3 separate regions of the Homo sapiens genome follow, and regions 1 and 3 are each linked to region 2. Evidence: promoter capture Hi-C in human tissues and cell types (Jung and others, 2019). All regions are on one chromosome and are shown on one strand. The core of a region is centred on a gene start or on the middle of the fragment in contact, and the rest is flanking DNA. Distances in the headings are between cores, read along the strand shown.

Evidence for each region. Contacts are between HindIII fragments. The study calls those that stand out against the background at their distance.
Region 1: a contact is called between a fragment that was not itself captured here and the fragment with the promoter of ZBTB8B in region 2, in 1 of the 25 tissues and cell types used here (dorsolateral prefrontal cortex).
Region 3: a contact is called between a fragment that was not itself captured here and the fragment with the promoter of ZBTB8B in region 2, in 2 of the 25 tissues and cell types used here (adrenal gland and spleen).

Annotation. Positions count from the first base shown.
Region 1 is chr1:32,782,353-32,787,323 of GRCh38, reverse strand. YARS1 (tyrosyl-tRNA synthetase 1) reads left to right here. Exons shown (of 13, transcript NM_003680.4): 7 at 249-384; 8 at 877-962; 9 at 4,785-4,920. Among named protein-coding and RNA genes, the nearest start is that of YARS1, 33 kb to the left of the region's middle. RefSeq lists an enhancer at 1-996. The HindIII fragment of the contact is 7,257 bases long and covers 1-4,963 here.
Region 2 is chr1:32,462,314-32,466,835 of GRCh38, reverse strand. ZBTB8B (zinc finger and BTB domain containing 8B) reads right to left here and starts at 1,764. Exons shown (of 4, transcript NM_001145720.2): 1 at 1,731-1,764. The HindIII fragment of the contact is 24,686 bases long and covers 1-4,522 here.
Region 3 is chr1:32,152,684-32,157,569 of GRCh38, reverse strand. It overlaps KPNA6 (karyopherin subunit alpha 6), which reads right to left. Exons shown (of 14, transcript NM_012316.5): 2 at 2,849-2,982; 3 at 625-717; 4 at 125-224. Among named protein-coding and RNA genes, the nearest start is that of TXLNA, 25 kb to the left of the region's middle. The HindIII fragment of the contact is 4,682 bases long and covers 92-4,773 here.

The DNA of each region.
Region 1 (4,971 bases), core at 86-2,585, 320 kb before region 2:
GAAACCCTGTCTCTACAAAAAATAGAATTACCTGGGCATGGTGACACATTCCTGTAGTCCCAGCTTTCCAGGAGGCTGAGATGGGAGAATCTCTTGAGCCCAGGAGGCTGAGGCTGCAGTGAGCCATGATTGTGCCACTGCACTCCAGCCTGGGTGACAGAGAAGAAAAAACAAAATTTAACTTATATTAGTTGAGCATATTCTCATTTTCAACCACAAGAGGTCCTCTTCCGTTCTATGACTTCTAGGAGTCCAAGATTGATCTCCTTGATCGGAAGGAGGATGTGAAGAAAAAACTGAAGAAGGCCTTCTGTGAGCCAGGAAATGTGGAGAACAATGGGGTTCTGTCCTTCATCAAGCATGTCCTTTTTCCCCTTAAGTCCGGTAACACTCTCTGTTTTCTTCCTAGAGGCCAGGCTAGAATAGAAAAGTTCGTGCTGTGATCATACTTGTGATTTGTCACAGACTCTTCCTTCAGGGACTGGCTGCCCTGATTCTCTGCTCTGATTTCTTATATATTAAAGTATGAATGATGTTGGGATGTAATTTAATTGTCCATATATTCGTTACCAGGCTAGGTTCTGAGGGAATACTGGAGTGGGCAGAGGTGTTAGAAGTAAGGGTGGGGGCAGACATGTTGAACTAGAGGAATACAACAAAATAGATATAAGCCACAAGCCTTCCCCTGAAGCAGCTGAGATGCTAGCTGGGTATACAATAGTGCCACTCATCCAATTTAAGAATAATACCATACAATAAAGTTCAGAATATATGGCAAAAACTACAAATAGTCATGCATGTGGGCTAGGAATAGTCATGCATGTGAGCTAGGAATGCTGTCAATGAGTTTGTTGACATGGATCCTTTTCCTTATAGAGTTTGTGATCCTACGAGATGAGAAATGGGGTGGAAACAAAACCTACACAGCTTACGTGGACCTGGAAAAGGACTTTGCTGCTGAGGTAACATGAAAGGAAAAGGAATCCTTTCATGAAGATCTGTATTTTGTTATTTTTTGCTGACTGTTAGAACTTGTTTAGAACAACTTGTTCTGTGTAAAAGTGAGCTGCCTGCTATTTTTGCTCTACTTTTGGTAATCTCACTAGTGTCCATTTTCCTTCAAAATTGCAGTTTTGGTTAAAGTTTCTTGTCAGTTAGCTTTTCTGACTTAGGAATTTTGTTAATACAGATGGATTTCTATCCCTCGGGGCCCTTTCCTTACCTGGCAGGGACTCTGTCTCACCTCTTCTCAGGAAACATTTCTTATCAGTAAATGTCTGTAATCTTATACACACGAGTGGTCCCTTTAGGATGTACAAAAGCAGTACTCATTCAGTAGAAACCATACTTCTTCAAGTACCCATACAACCATTCTGTTTTTCACTTTCTGTATTCAATAAATTACATGAGATACTAAAAAAAAAAAAAAAAAAGAAAATGGGCTGGGTGCAGCAGCTCACACCTGTAATCCCAGCACTTTGGGAGGCCGAGGTGGGTGGATCACCTGAGGTCAGGAGTTCGAGACCAGCCTGACCAACACGGAGAAACCCCATCTCTATTAAAAATACAAAAAAGTAGCCAGGCATGGTGGCACGCACCTGTAATCCCAGCTACTCGGGAGGCTGAGGCAGGGGATTCGCTTGAACCTGGGAGTCGGAGGTTGCAGTGAACCGAGATCGCGCCATTGTACTCCAGCCTGGGCAACAAGAGTGAAACTCCGTCTCAAAAAGAAAAAAAGAAAGGAAAAGAAAAGAAAAAGAAAGATAATCCCCACTCAACTCTGCCAGACCTCTCCATCTTGGCCCGCTAGGTTTGTAGTTATATGCTACAGGGCTCTGTGTTTTTGTGGGGTTTTTTTTTTTTGAGACAGAGTCTCACTCTGTCGCCTAGGCTGGAGTGCAGTGGCACGATCTCGGCTCACTGCAACCTCCGCCTCCCAGGTTCAAGCGATTCTCCTGCCTCAGCCTCCTGAGTAGCCGGGATTACAGGTGCCCACCACCACACCCGGCTAATTTTCATATTTTTTAGTAGAGACGGGGTTTCACCATGTTGGCCAGGCTGGTCTTGAACTCCTGACCTCAGGTGATCCGCCTGCCTCGGCCTCCCAGAGTGCTGGGATTACAGGCGTGAGCCCCTGTGCCCGGCCAGGGCTCTGTTTATGCTCTCCAGGGCTGCATATTTTGTTAATGGCTTTGATGAGGATTCAGGTGGTTCCCAGATTCGATAGGCAAATGGTACAATGCTAATATACTGGTGCTTTAATCACTCTCCAAATGACTTAGCAGGCTGGAATAAAGGACCTAACTCAGCAAAAATGAAGTATTTCAGGAACAGATGCAAAATCAGGATTCAAAAACAAGAGATAATTATAAAAGGACAGAATAGAGGCTCCTATTCATTTCAACAGACACTTGAACAAAAGACTTACTAGGTGCCCATGTGTTAGGCACTATGCTAGGGACTGGTATTACACAGAGGGTTCAGTCCTCCTAATGCTCAGTCCAGTAGGCGAGGCAGACTTGTAAACATTTCATTGGCTGCATTTTACATATATATCTATATGTGTTTTTTAACATATGTGTGTATGTGTGTATATATGTGAATATATGTGTGAAAATATATATGTGAATATATATAATGAAAAGAATATATATATACCAGAAATAATATAGGAGGAAATGATTAACTGACTCTAGAAAAGCTTGTGGAGGAGACACTATCCAAGCACTATTTTGCTTGAGGAATAGGAGTTCACAAGGAAATCTGTGAGGGAATAAGTTGTACAAAGACATGGTAGGATGAAGCAGCATGATGTATGAGGAATTCCAGGTGGTTTGGTCTGACTAGAGTCTAAAAGGTGAGGAGGGGGATTATGGGAGAGATAGGCAGGGCCAGGTCACAAAGGGAAGATGTGATAATACCATATATAGGAATAAAATGGGGGGTTTTGTGATTGACTCTGAATTCAGGTCCAACCAATTTAATGGAGCTGCTAGAAATGTTAATGTACGCCAGGTGCGGTGGCTCACACCTGTAATCCCAGCACTTTGGGAGGCCAAGGCAGGAGAATTGCTTGAGCTCAGGAGTTGAAGACTAGCCTAGGCAACATAGTGAGACTCTGTCTCTACAAAAAAAAAAAAAAAATCAAAATACTGGCCAGCCATGATGGCGCATGCCTGTAGTCGCAGCTACTGGGAAGGCTGAGGTGGGAGGATCGCTTGAGCCCAGGAGATCAAAGCTGCACTGAGCCATGATTGCGCCACTGTACTCCAGCTGGGTAACAGAGCGAGACCATGTCTCAAAAAAAAAAAAAAAGTCTTTTGTGGGAATTAGGAATAGATGAAATTCCTCAGAAAAAAGGTCTGCAGCCATGTTATCCAACAGTACTTTCTGTGGTGATGGATATGTCCTATCTGTACTGCCTGATACAGAAGCCACATGTGGCTGTTGAGCACTTGCAATGTGGCAGGTGCAGTTGAAGAACTGAATTTCAGTTTACATTTAAATACCCACACAAGGCTAGTAGCCACCATATTGGACAGCAGCAGCCCTAGAGCTTTTATTAAAATTAAATATTCCCAAGGAAATGAAGAAGTAGTATCAGAAACAAAAATGTTCGCTTTGTTGTATTAAAAGTGTTCATTCCTAAGGGATGTCCCCTCAGAATATCTAGAAGATTCTTTCAGACCAGATTTGAGATATAAAAAAGGCAGTCAGCTGGGCGTGGTGGCTCACACCTGTAATCCCAGCACTTTGGGAGGCTGAGGCAGGTGGATCACGAGGTCAGGAGTTCAAGACCAGTCTGGGCAACATGGTGAAACCCCGTCTCTACTAAAATACAAAAAATTAGCTGGGCGTGGCTGCATGCGCCTGTAGTCCCAGCTACTCAGGAGGCTGAGGCAGGAGAATTGCTTGAGCTCAGGAGGCAGAGGTTGCAATGAGCTGAGATTGCGCCACTGCACCCCAGCCTGGGCGACGGAGCAAGACTCCGTCTCAAAGAAAAGGCAGTCACAGGACACAAGGAATAAAATGGAATTACTGAACTATTACCATGTACGAGCAGCGTTCTCATCATTTTCACACCCACATTCAGTGATTTAACCCTCATCCCCATCCTGTGAGATATAGCTGTTGTTAGCTTCACTTTATAAGTAACAAAGCCAACACTGGCCCGGCACGTTGGCCCATGCCTGTAATCCTAGCACTTTGGGAGGCAGAAGCAGGCAGATTGCCTGAACCCAGGAGTTCAAGACCAGCCTGGGTAACATAGCAAGACCCTGTCTCTACAAAAAGAAAAGAGAAAAAGCAGCAGCCAAAGCTTAGAGGGGTTATGTGCCTAGTTTGGAGTCGCACACAGCTAGCTGGGAATCTAATCTGGGTCTGTCGAACTCCAAAGCCCTTCCTCTTTCTTCTTACTCAGCTGTCTCCCTCAGGTTATCTTTAGGCCTTGGGTTACCTATGTGAATGTTTCTCTGCTTGTAAATACCAGTTGGTCTGTGACCCTACTCTAAGCATAAATGGAGGGACTAGAAGAATTAGACTAACAAATACATTCAGCTCCTAAACACCCTCAAGTTAGTATAGATTTCAGAATCAAAAGACTTGGATTTTGGACACGTTAGTCTTTCTGAATGTATTTTCCCTTCTCCTACCTGCCTCACAAGATTATCACAAGGATCAAATAAGACTGTTGGGAAAAACTCCCTTGATCCTACTTTTTTGGATTCAGGTGTCCTGTGCCCTGTTCTAGACTTTATCTCACTAGGTCTTGTTCGATTCTGCAGGTTGTACATCCTGGAGACCTGAAGAATTCTGTTGAAGTCGCACTGAACAAGTTGCTGGATCCAATCCGGGAAAAGTTTAATACCCCTGCCCTGAAAAAACTGGCCAGCGCTGCCTACCCAGATCCCTCAAAGCAGAGTAAGGCCAGCTGGAGAGGGGCCGACATCATCAGGAGAGAGAGCTTGTCAA
Region 2 (4,522 bases), core at 515-3,014:
AATATGTAAGTACGCACAACACTTCTTAACTTGTAGTATGGTCTGATCTATAGGGGCTCTTCCCAGGGCACTTCCGTCTTTCACTGGAAAAGCCTCCTTTCCAGAAATAGCACCTAAAACCAATTTCTTTTGGCTTTCTTACTGAAATTATTTTTTATTCTATTGCAATTATTTTTATTCTACTTCCTGACGTTGCAAAAGTCTATCCGTATAGTATTTTCTTCAAAATTTTCCCCAATCCTGTACTTGGTATATATTGTGTAAATATTTATTTATATCACCCCCATTTGCCTGAAGTGCTCTGCTGCCCCGGGAAGTGCTGAGGATCACCACTTATCCCAGAAGAGCAGCTCTTAGGGCAGACTGCTCTCAGAAGCACATTTATCCGCACTCTGGCAGGGAACCTCCCAACCATCCCACGGTTCCAACTCAATTCAACGGTTACCGGCTACATACAATGCCTGACACAAGGAAGATGCCAGGAATAGAAAAATGAACCAAGTATAGTGCCTGTCCTCCAGGAGACAGCAGATGCCAACACAACTACCTGCAATACAAACTCTCATATACCCTTGAGGGAGTCCTAGCCAGATCACACAACTGTCTCTGTTCAGAGGCCAAAAGCAGCCTTGAATTCCACCTCCGACCCTTTCTGACAAGACTCCTCCAGTCCCACCAACCTGAGAATAACAAAAACCTGCTCCTCAATTTTAGTAAATATTAAGCACTATTCCTTATAAAACACTGTACAAAGTACAAGCATATTCATTTTACTTTTTAAATTAAAATTTTTAAAAGGCACGGTCTTGCTCGGTTGCCCAGGTTGGAGTGCACGATCCTACCTCAATGCAGCCTGGAACTCCTGGGCTCAAGAGATCCTCCCAACCTTAGCTTCCCGAGTAGCAGGGACTACAGGTGCGCGCCACCATGCCTGGCTTTTACAAGCACATTAGTTTTCACCTCACAATAATCCAGTACGACAGATACTCTAACTACATCCTCTTTTTCAGAGGAGGAACTGAGATTCAAAGATGCAGATAACATCACCAAGTTAGTAATAGAACAGAGATCCGACTGACTCCCGGGTTGACATCCTTAACCACTATGCTAACCGGCCTCCTCAAACCCTCCAGGACACGATGCGACAGGTTGGGGAAGTCACTCCTTTCTTTTAGGCATGGATCGGAGGAGAAGGACACTGGAGAAGTTTCCATTTCCATACGAAGAATTTCAGGGTCAACTGCATCTAAACTGCTCGCAAGACAGACCCTCCCCCGTCCAGCATCAGACGACCTGCAGAGAGGCCACCAGAACCAGCTACAGGGCACGGCCCCCGAGGGTGGGACCCCAAGGCCTAGCCCCTCCCATGGCCTCCCGCGGACAAAGTGGCCATCGCTGCCGCTGGCACTTCTCCAGTGTGGCCGAGCCCCCCACGCCTGGGCACCATTCACCGTGGAAGTAGTCGGCGCCGCGACCCCCGGCTGGACGACGCGGAGGACACCCAATGACAGGGAAGCTGGGGCCCCACGGCCGCGCCTGCCCCTCCCCACGCTAGAAGGGCTCGCGGGGCGGAGGTCCCAGGAGTTGCCAGGGCCAAGCGGTCCGAAGGAGGATGACTGAGTGGGGGCAACCCTGCCCGCTAACCCCAATCTCCAGCCAGCCTCCCGGGTGCTAGGAATCCTCCCCAAACCAACGAAAGCGGCAGCGCCAACCCGCTTCTTCGCGCTCACCTTCCAGCGGGTTCCAGCAGCGCAGCCACGGAGCACCGCGCACCGACACGCCCCCCTTTCATTCACCTGGCGCCCTCCGATGAGAGGCGGGGCGGCTGGCCAATCGCGGGAGCGCCTGGCCTCGGGAAGGCGGGCCCTTCGGCCAGCAGGGTGGTCAATGGCGCTGGTGCCCCTCGGAGGATGCGCTCTGAAGGCGCTGGTGCTCGCAGGGTGATGGGAGTTGTGGTCTCAGCGCTGGCTTTTCGGGTAAAGATAGAGTGGACAAAACTACAAGTACCAAGATGCCAAAAGGGGCGAGGACCAGTGCTAGCGAAAGGCTGCAGCTCGGTTCGGTCTTTTGAGTCCCACTTGAGGGACCTGCCAAGTACCGGTCTCTTTGTCTGGAGAGCGAAAAGCACGTCGTGGGTATTAATGCAGTCCAGGGAATAAGAGCTTTGACTCATCAGTCCGCACATATTTCACCTACTGGCGCTTTCCGCAAAAATCTGGAAATAAGGGAAATGGTTTAATCGATTCAACAGGTTTTTATTGCATACCCGCGGTTTCTTTCACTGGGTAGTCGTTACAAAAGATAAAAGATTCAGCTCTTCCCTTGACAGGCTCTCCGGTTCATACATACTAGTGAAACGGTTAAATGGCAGTACTAGGTGCTAAGTGACCGTACAGGCGTGTTCTTGTCAGCTGTGAGCAAGACAAGGCAGCTTACCGCTCTCAGGGAGCTTAGTTCTCATGGGGGTGTATTCGTTTGCTAGGGCTGCTGTACCTAAGTATCACCAACCCGGTGGCGTCAATAACAGATCTTATTGTCTGACAATCCTGGGGGCATCTGAAAGCAAGATGTTGGCAGGGTTCTTTCCTTCTGAGCGCTGTGAGGAAACGGTCTCTTCCAGGCTTCTCTCCTGGGCTTGCATATGGCCATCTTCATGTTCACAGGGCATATTCCCTGTATATGTCTCCATGTCAAAATGTCTCCTTTTGGTTGCAGTGAGTCGAGATCGCGCCACTGCACTCCAGCCTGGGGCGACAGAGAGAGACTCCGTCTCCAAAAAAAAAGTATTTTTATAAGGATACCAGTCATATTGGATTAGGGGTTCACTCTATGCCAGTATGACTTTTTTTTTTTTTTTTTTTTTTTTTTTGAGACGGAGTCTCAGACTCTGTTGCCCAGGCTGGAGTGGTGGCGGGTGGATCACCTGAGGTCAGGAGTCCGAGACCAGCCTGGCCAACATGGTGAAACCCCATCTCTACTAAAAATACAAAAATTAGCCGGGCGTGGGCCAGTAATCCCAGCTACTTGGGAGGCTGAGGCAGGAGAATGCTTGAACCAAAGAGATTGCAGTGAGTGGAGATCTGGCCACTGCACTCCAGCCTGGGCAGCAGAGCAAGACTCTGTCTCAAAAAAAAAAAAAAAAAAAAAAAAGGCTACCCCCTTCGCTGAGAGACCCTAATGAGGAGTAGTGAGCCATGCTAAGATAAAACAGAAAACCGGTTGGTACATATCTAAGAAACAGGAGAATGCCATTGGGTTGAGGAAGTGGATGGCAGGTAGACCAGCTTAATGGACGTGCAACCCACGCAGTGGCACAGGCCCGCACACTCAGAAAGGGCTGGTGCTTCCAGGTGAGGTTTTATACTTAACAAAACAAAACAAAAAAAGAGCCAGGTGCGGTGGCTTACACCTGTAATCCCAGCACTTTGGGAGGCTGAGGCGGGCGGATCACTTGAGACCAGCCTGGCCAACATGGCAAAACCCAGTGTCTACTAAAAATACAAAAATTAGCTGGGCATGGTGACACATACCTGTAATCCCAGCTACTCGGGAGGCTGAGGCATGAGAATCACTTGAACATGGAAAGTGGAGGTTGCAGTGAGCTGAGATTGTGCCACTGCACTGTTTCAAGGAGGAGGAGGACGAGGAGGAGGAGAGAGGGAAGAGGGAAGAAGAAGAAGAGGAAGAGGAAGGAGAGGAAGGAGAAGGAGGAGGAGGAGAAGAAGAAGAAGAAGAAAGATTTAATTACTAACAAAAAGAAAATCTAAATAAATATTTTAAAAATTAAAAAAAAGGAAAGGGCTGATGCCTGGTTTAATGCTCTGCCATTGCCCTCTTAAAATTCTTAGTAGTTTTTGAACAAGGAGCTCTGCATTTTCATTTTGCATTGGGCCCCACAAATTATGTAGCCAGTCCAAGCGACAGGAAATATGAATGGATAGAGAAGCAAAGGCCAGATTATGTAGGAATTTGTAGGCCACCTTAAGGAGTTTGGATTTTTTCTTATGAATGTGAAGGGACACCTTCGAAGGATCTTAAGCAGGGAAGAGATAAGATATGATCTCTCCCCTGCTGATAGATGCTGATAACTGGGGATAGGGTAGAGGTGGTAGAGATGGAGGGGTTTGTTTAGGATATATTTTAGAGCTTGTCAAAAATGTAATTGCAGTTCACTCTAAAGATAACTTAATAATTTTAGAAGGTAAAATGTCAGCCAAACACCACTATACTATCTATCAAAGAAAAGTAGTTTACCTATTTCTTGTAAAGCTGGATACCCAGAGAGGGACAGCAGCAGTTACATCTTTCCTGTTAGTGTGGCTGTCCTTGCCACCTGGTTCCCAAAGGCCAGCTCAGGTGCTGAGGACTTTTGATCATCATAGCAGCAGAGAAAGCATCAGAAGTGAGGAGCACCAAGCTTCTCTGGGCTCAGCCTTTTGTATCTTCTTACCTGGGAAGTCATGTCACTGATGCCTTCACCTTAATTATGACTGTACCTGGAACTCACCCTAGTATTCATTCC
Region 3 (4,886 bases), core at 1,183-3,682, 310 kb after region 2:
AGCAACACCAAGGTCAGTAGGGCTAGAGCAGAATGAGTGAGGGCACGTGTAAGTTGATGACATCAGTGAAGAGAAAAGAGGCTAAATCATATAAGGCCTCTCTGACAAGGGCCAGGCTTTGTACCTTTGGAGAGCAGTTTCCGGAATTTCTGTGTGGTTGCTAACTGCAGGTCAGAATCATCAGAAAAGAGCATCTCCACCATCTCTCTTGTGATCACACTCTCCTAGAACATAAAACAAGTTTAGGACTTTGCAAACCAACATTAGAGCCAGATGTGAGCACATAATACTGCTTGGCATCCTGTTTTCTAAAAAACTGAGGGCAAGAGGATGGCATAATAGGCTCAGGAGAAGGGGTCTGTTTAATCTATAGGTGCTTCAAGTTGGGACATTTGAAAAGTGATTCCTAATTCTGAGGCAACTGATGGCTTCTCTTAAATGTTTCCTCAGATATATCTAACAAAGTTGAATCTTTGTTGACTCCTAAAGCTGACGAAAGGGTCCACAGAGGAAAGAACTTGTCATGGTTACTGGCAAAGCTGGTAGATGATGTGAACGGCCCAATTTCTGTCCTTAGAAGCAGGTGTTTTCCAGGTCAGCCTGAGGCACATGCAGGGGCCTTACCCCAGTGGTAGAGCTCACATAAGAGTCCATGAGAAGACTATCGAACATGGCAGCTTCTTCATTAATCAGCTCCACATTTCTCCGTTTAAAAAGCTGAAAGTAAAGAGACAGTGGTTAAGAGTACTCTCTGAACCAAAGAAAACAAAGAACAATCCAATGTTAAATTATGGCATAACTGACAAGGATATACTAGAGTAGCTGAGAAGTGAGGCCAAGCTTTATACATTAGTCTCCCCTTATTCAGTTTTGCTTTCTATTATTTTAGTTATCCAGTCAACCGTGGTCTGAAAATATTACACAGAAAATTCCAGAAATGAACAATTCATAAGTTTTAAATTGCATGCCATTCTGAGTAGTGTTGAAGTTTCACGCTATCTTGTTCTGTCTGGCCCAGGATGTGAACATCCTTTGTCCAGTGCATCCATTCCATGCTGTATACGCTGCTGCCAGTTAGTCACTTAATAACCAACTTGGTTATCAGGTGGCAATTGCTTGTGTTCAAGTAACCCTTATTTTACTTAGTAATAGCCACAAAGTGCAAGAGTAGTGATGCTGGCAATTCAAATGTGCCAAAGAGAAGCTGTAAAGTGCTTCCTTTAAGTAAAAAGATGAAAACATGAAAAAAAACATAGTATATGTAAGGTTCAGTAATATCTGCAGTTTCAGGCATCCACTGTGGGTCCTGGAATGTATTCCACAAAGAGAAGAGGAGACTATTGATTACTAACATGGAAAAGATATTCAAGGACTTGGAGGCAGAGGCAGCAGTGGGCCAAGATCACGCCACTGTACTCCAACCTGGGCAACAGGGCAAGATCCTGTCTTAAAAAAAAAAAAGAAAAAAAGGAATGATAGTATAGCAAAAGGGTGGGCAAAATCAGGTTAGGTTGGCCAGGCACAGTGGCGCATGCCTGCAATCCCAGCACTCTGGGAGGCCAGGGCAGGTGGATCACTTCAGCTCAGGAGTTCAAGACCAGCCTGGGCAACATGGCAAAACCCTGTCTGTACAAAAAAAAAAAAAAAAAAAAAATCCACAAAAATTAGCCGGGCGTGGTGGTACATGCCTATAGTCCAGCTATGCAGGAGGCTGAGGAAGAAGGATCACTTGAGCCCGGGAGCTTGAGGCTGCAGTGAGCTGAGATCATGTCACTCACTGCACTCACTGCACTCCAGCCTGGGTGACAGAGTGAGACCTTGTCTCAATAAATAAATAAATAAATAAATAAATAAATAAATAAATAATAATAATCAGGTGACTGAATCTGTTGGCGGGGTGGCGTAGGAGTGCAGATGGTGAGGCATTATTATAGTCTCAGGCTGGGCGTGGTGGCTTACGCCTGTAATCCCAGCACTATGGGAGGCTGAGGCGGGCAGATCTGGGCAGATCACAAGGTCAGGAGTTCGAGACCAGTCTGGCCAACATGGTGAAACCCAGTCTCTACCAAAAATATACAAAGTTAATTGGACGTGGTGGTACATGCCCGTAATCCTAGCTACTCGGGAGGCTAAGGCAGGAGAATTGCTTGAACCCAGGAGGCAGAGGTTGCAGTGAGCAGAGATCGTGCCATTGCACTCCAGCCTGGGTGACAGAATCAGACTCCGTCTCAAAAAAAAAAAAAGAAAAAAAAAAGAAAAGAAAAGGTAACAAGGAACTAGAACTAGAATGTTACAGTAAAGACATAAATGATGTCTAAGTTGGTCTAACTTGTGAAAAGGGGATAAGGTCAGTTTTCTCTTTCTCAAAGCTCCCAACATTTATTTACAACAAAGGAAACTGGATGAGTAGCTCACTCAGTAAGTAAGCTACTTTTCTTTTTTTTTTTTTTTTTTTTTTTGAGATGGAGTTTCACTCTTGTTGCCCAGGCTGGAGTGCAATGGCACGAACTCAGCTCCTGCAACCTCCGCCTCCCAGGTTCAAGCAATTCTCCTGCTTCAGCCTCCCAAGTAGCTGAGATTGCAGGCGCATGCCACCACGTCCGGCTAATTTCTGTATTTTTAGTAGAGAAAATGAAGTTTCACCATGTTGGCCAGGCTGGTCTTGAACTCCTGACCTCAGGTGATCTGCCTGCCTTGGCCTCCCAAAGTGCTGGGATTACAGACATGAGCCACCATGCCCACCTAGTAAGCTACTTTTCTACAGGGCAAGTCAGGGTGCATGGTGGAGGCCAACCATAGGGGCTTGTTTCCCAGAATAGTATGTTTGAGAATACTCCCATTAACTCACTTGTTGCTCTCGCTTCTGCTTCCGGAGCTGAATGCCCTCTTCCTCTCTTCTTCGTCTCATTTCTTCAGGGTTTAGAGCATTGTTCTTATAGCTCTTCATTCGATAATTGTCTTTCCCTGGGCTCGCCATGGTCTCTAGAAGAAAAGATACACACTGCCAAAAACTCTTGAGAGGACAGCATTTCCTTTTCACTAGACTTCTATCCCTACCCACCCTTCACCCTCCCCTACTCTGGGGGGAATACAGCTCTCTGGGAGCTCTCAATAGCACCTGACATCTCTACCCACCCCCCAGCCCCAGTATCTTTTAATTACAATAAGCTTGCTAAACAGGTGGTATTAAAGCAATTGGTATAAGCTTAGTAGTTAAAAGTGTGGGCCCTAGAGACAGATTGTCTGGGTTCACATCCTGACCCTTCTACTTGTTAGCTGTGCAACCTTGGACAAGCTCCTGTAACTTTTATTGCTTCAGAATTTAATCTTTAATAAAACAGGAACACATCAGGCACAGTGGCTCCCACCCGTAATCCCAGGGGTCTGCAGACCATACTTTGAGAAATGCTGTTTTTTTTTTTTGAGACAGGGTCTCACTCTGTCACCCAGGCTGGAGTGCAGTGGCACGGTATCGACTCACTGCAACCTCTGCCTCCTGGGCTCACGTGATTCTCCTGCCTCAGCCTTCCGAGTAGCTGGGATTACAGGCGCACACCACCACAACTGGTTAATTTTTATATTTTTAGTAGAGACGGGGTCTCACCATGTTGGCCAGGCTGGTCTCAAACTCCTGACCTCAGGTGATCCACCTGCCTTGGCCTCCCAAAGTGCTGGGACTATAGGCATGAGCAACCACGTCCAGCCAAGAACTGCTGTTCTAAGCAGTGAATTACTCAGTTGTAGGTAAATAAATGTTAACTTGACCAGCTAGTGCCAAAGTTGTCTTCCATAGTACTGCCACTGACAAATATCTTGACCAATACTTTTGACAATCTACTGGGTGTCATAAAGTATTTCACAGAGATGATTATTTGCATATCCCAGATTACTAATGAGGTTAGATTTCATGTTGTTATTAGCTATATGTTTCCCCTTCTGTGAAAAATGTTTGTTTCTGTATTTTTAAATATTTTTCTTCTTTTTTTTTTTTTTTTTTTGAGACAGAGTTTCACTTTTGTTGCCCAGGCTGGAGTGCAATGGCACCATCTTGACTCACTGCAACCTATGCCACCCAGATTCAAATGATTCTCCTGCCTCACCCTCCTGAGTAGCTGGGACTACAGGTGCCTGCCACCACGCCTAATACGGCTAATTTTTGTATTTTTAGTAGAGACGGGGTTTCACCATGTTGGCCAGGCTGATCTCGAACTCCTGACCTCAGGTGAACTGCCTGCCTCGGCCTCCCAAAGTGCTGGGATTACAGGCATGAGCCACTGCGCCTGGCCTGTTCACGTTCTTTTAAATCAGTTATCTGTGACTGTGTACTTTCTTCATCCTTAATATTGTCTTATTTGTGCCCTCTTTTGTTCCTGAGAACCTTTACCAGAGACTTGACTATTTTTATTTTAGTCTTTTGCAAGATCCAAGTTTTAGCTTCATTGAGTCTTCTCTACTATATGATTTCTATCCCCTTTCTACATTTTTTCTAATTTAAGTTGTATATCTAAGTAATTAAATGTTCACACTATACTTTTTTTTTTTTTTTTTTTTTTGAGATGGAGTCTCACTCTGTCACCCAGGCTGGAGTGCAGTGGCGCGATCTTGGCTCACTGCAACCCTCCGCCTCCTGGGTTCATGTGATTCTCCTGCCTCAGCCTCCCAAGCAGCTGGGATTGCAGGTGTGCACGCAGGGCTAATTTTTTTTATTTTTATTTTTATTTTTTTTAGACAGAGTCTCCCTCTGTTGCCCAGGCTGGAGTGCAATGGCGCCATCTCGGCTCACTGCAAGCTCCGCCTCCTGGGTTCACGCCATTTTCCTGCCTCAGCCTCCCGAGTAGCTGGGACTACAGGCGCCCGCCACCACGTCTGGCTAATTTTTTCTATTT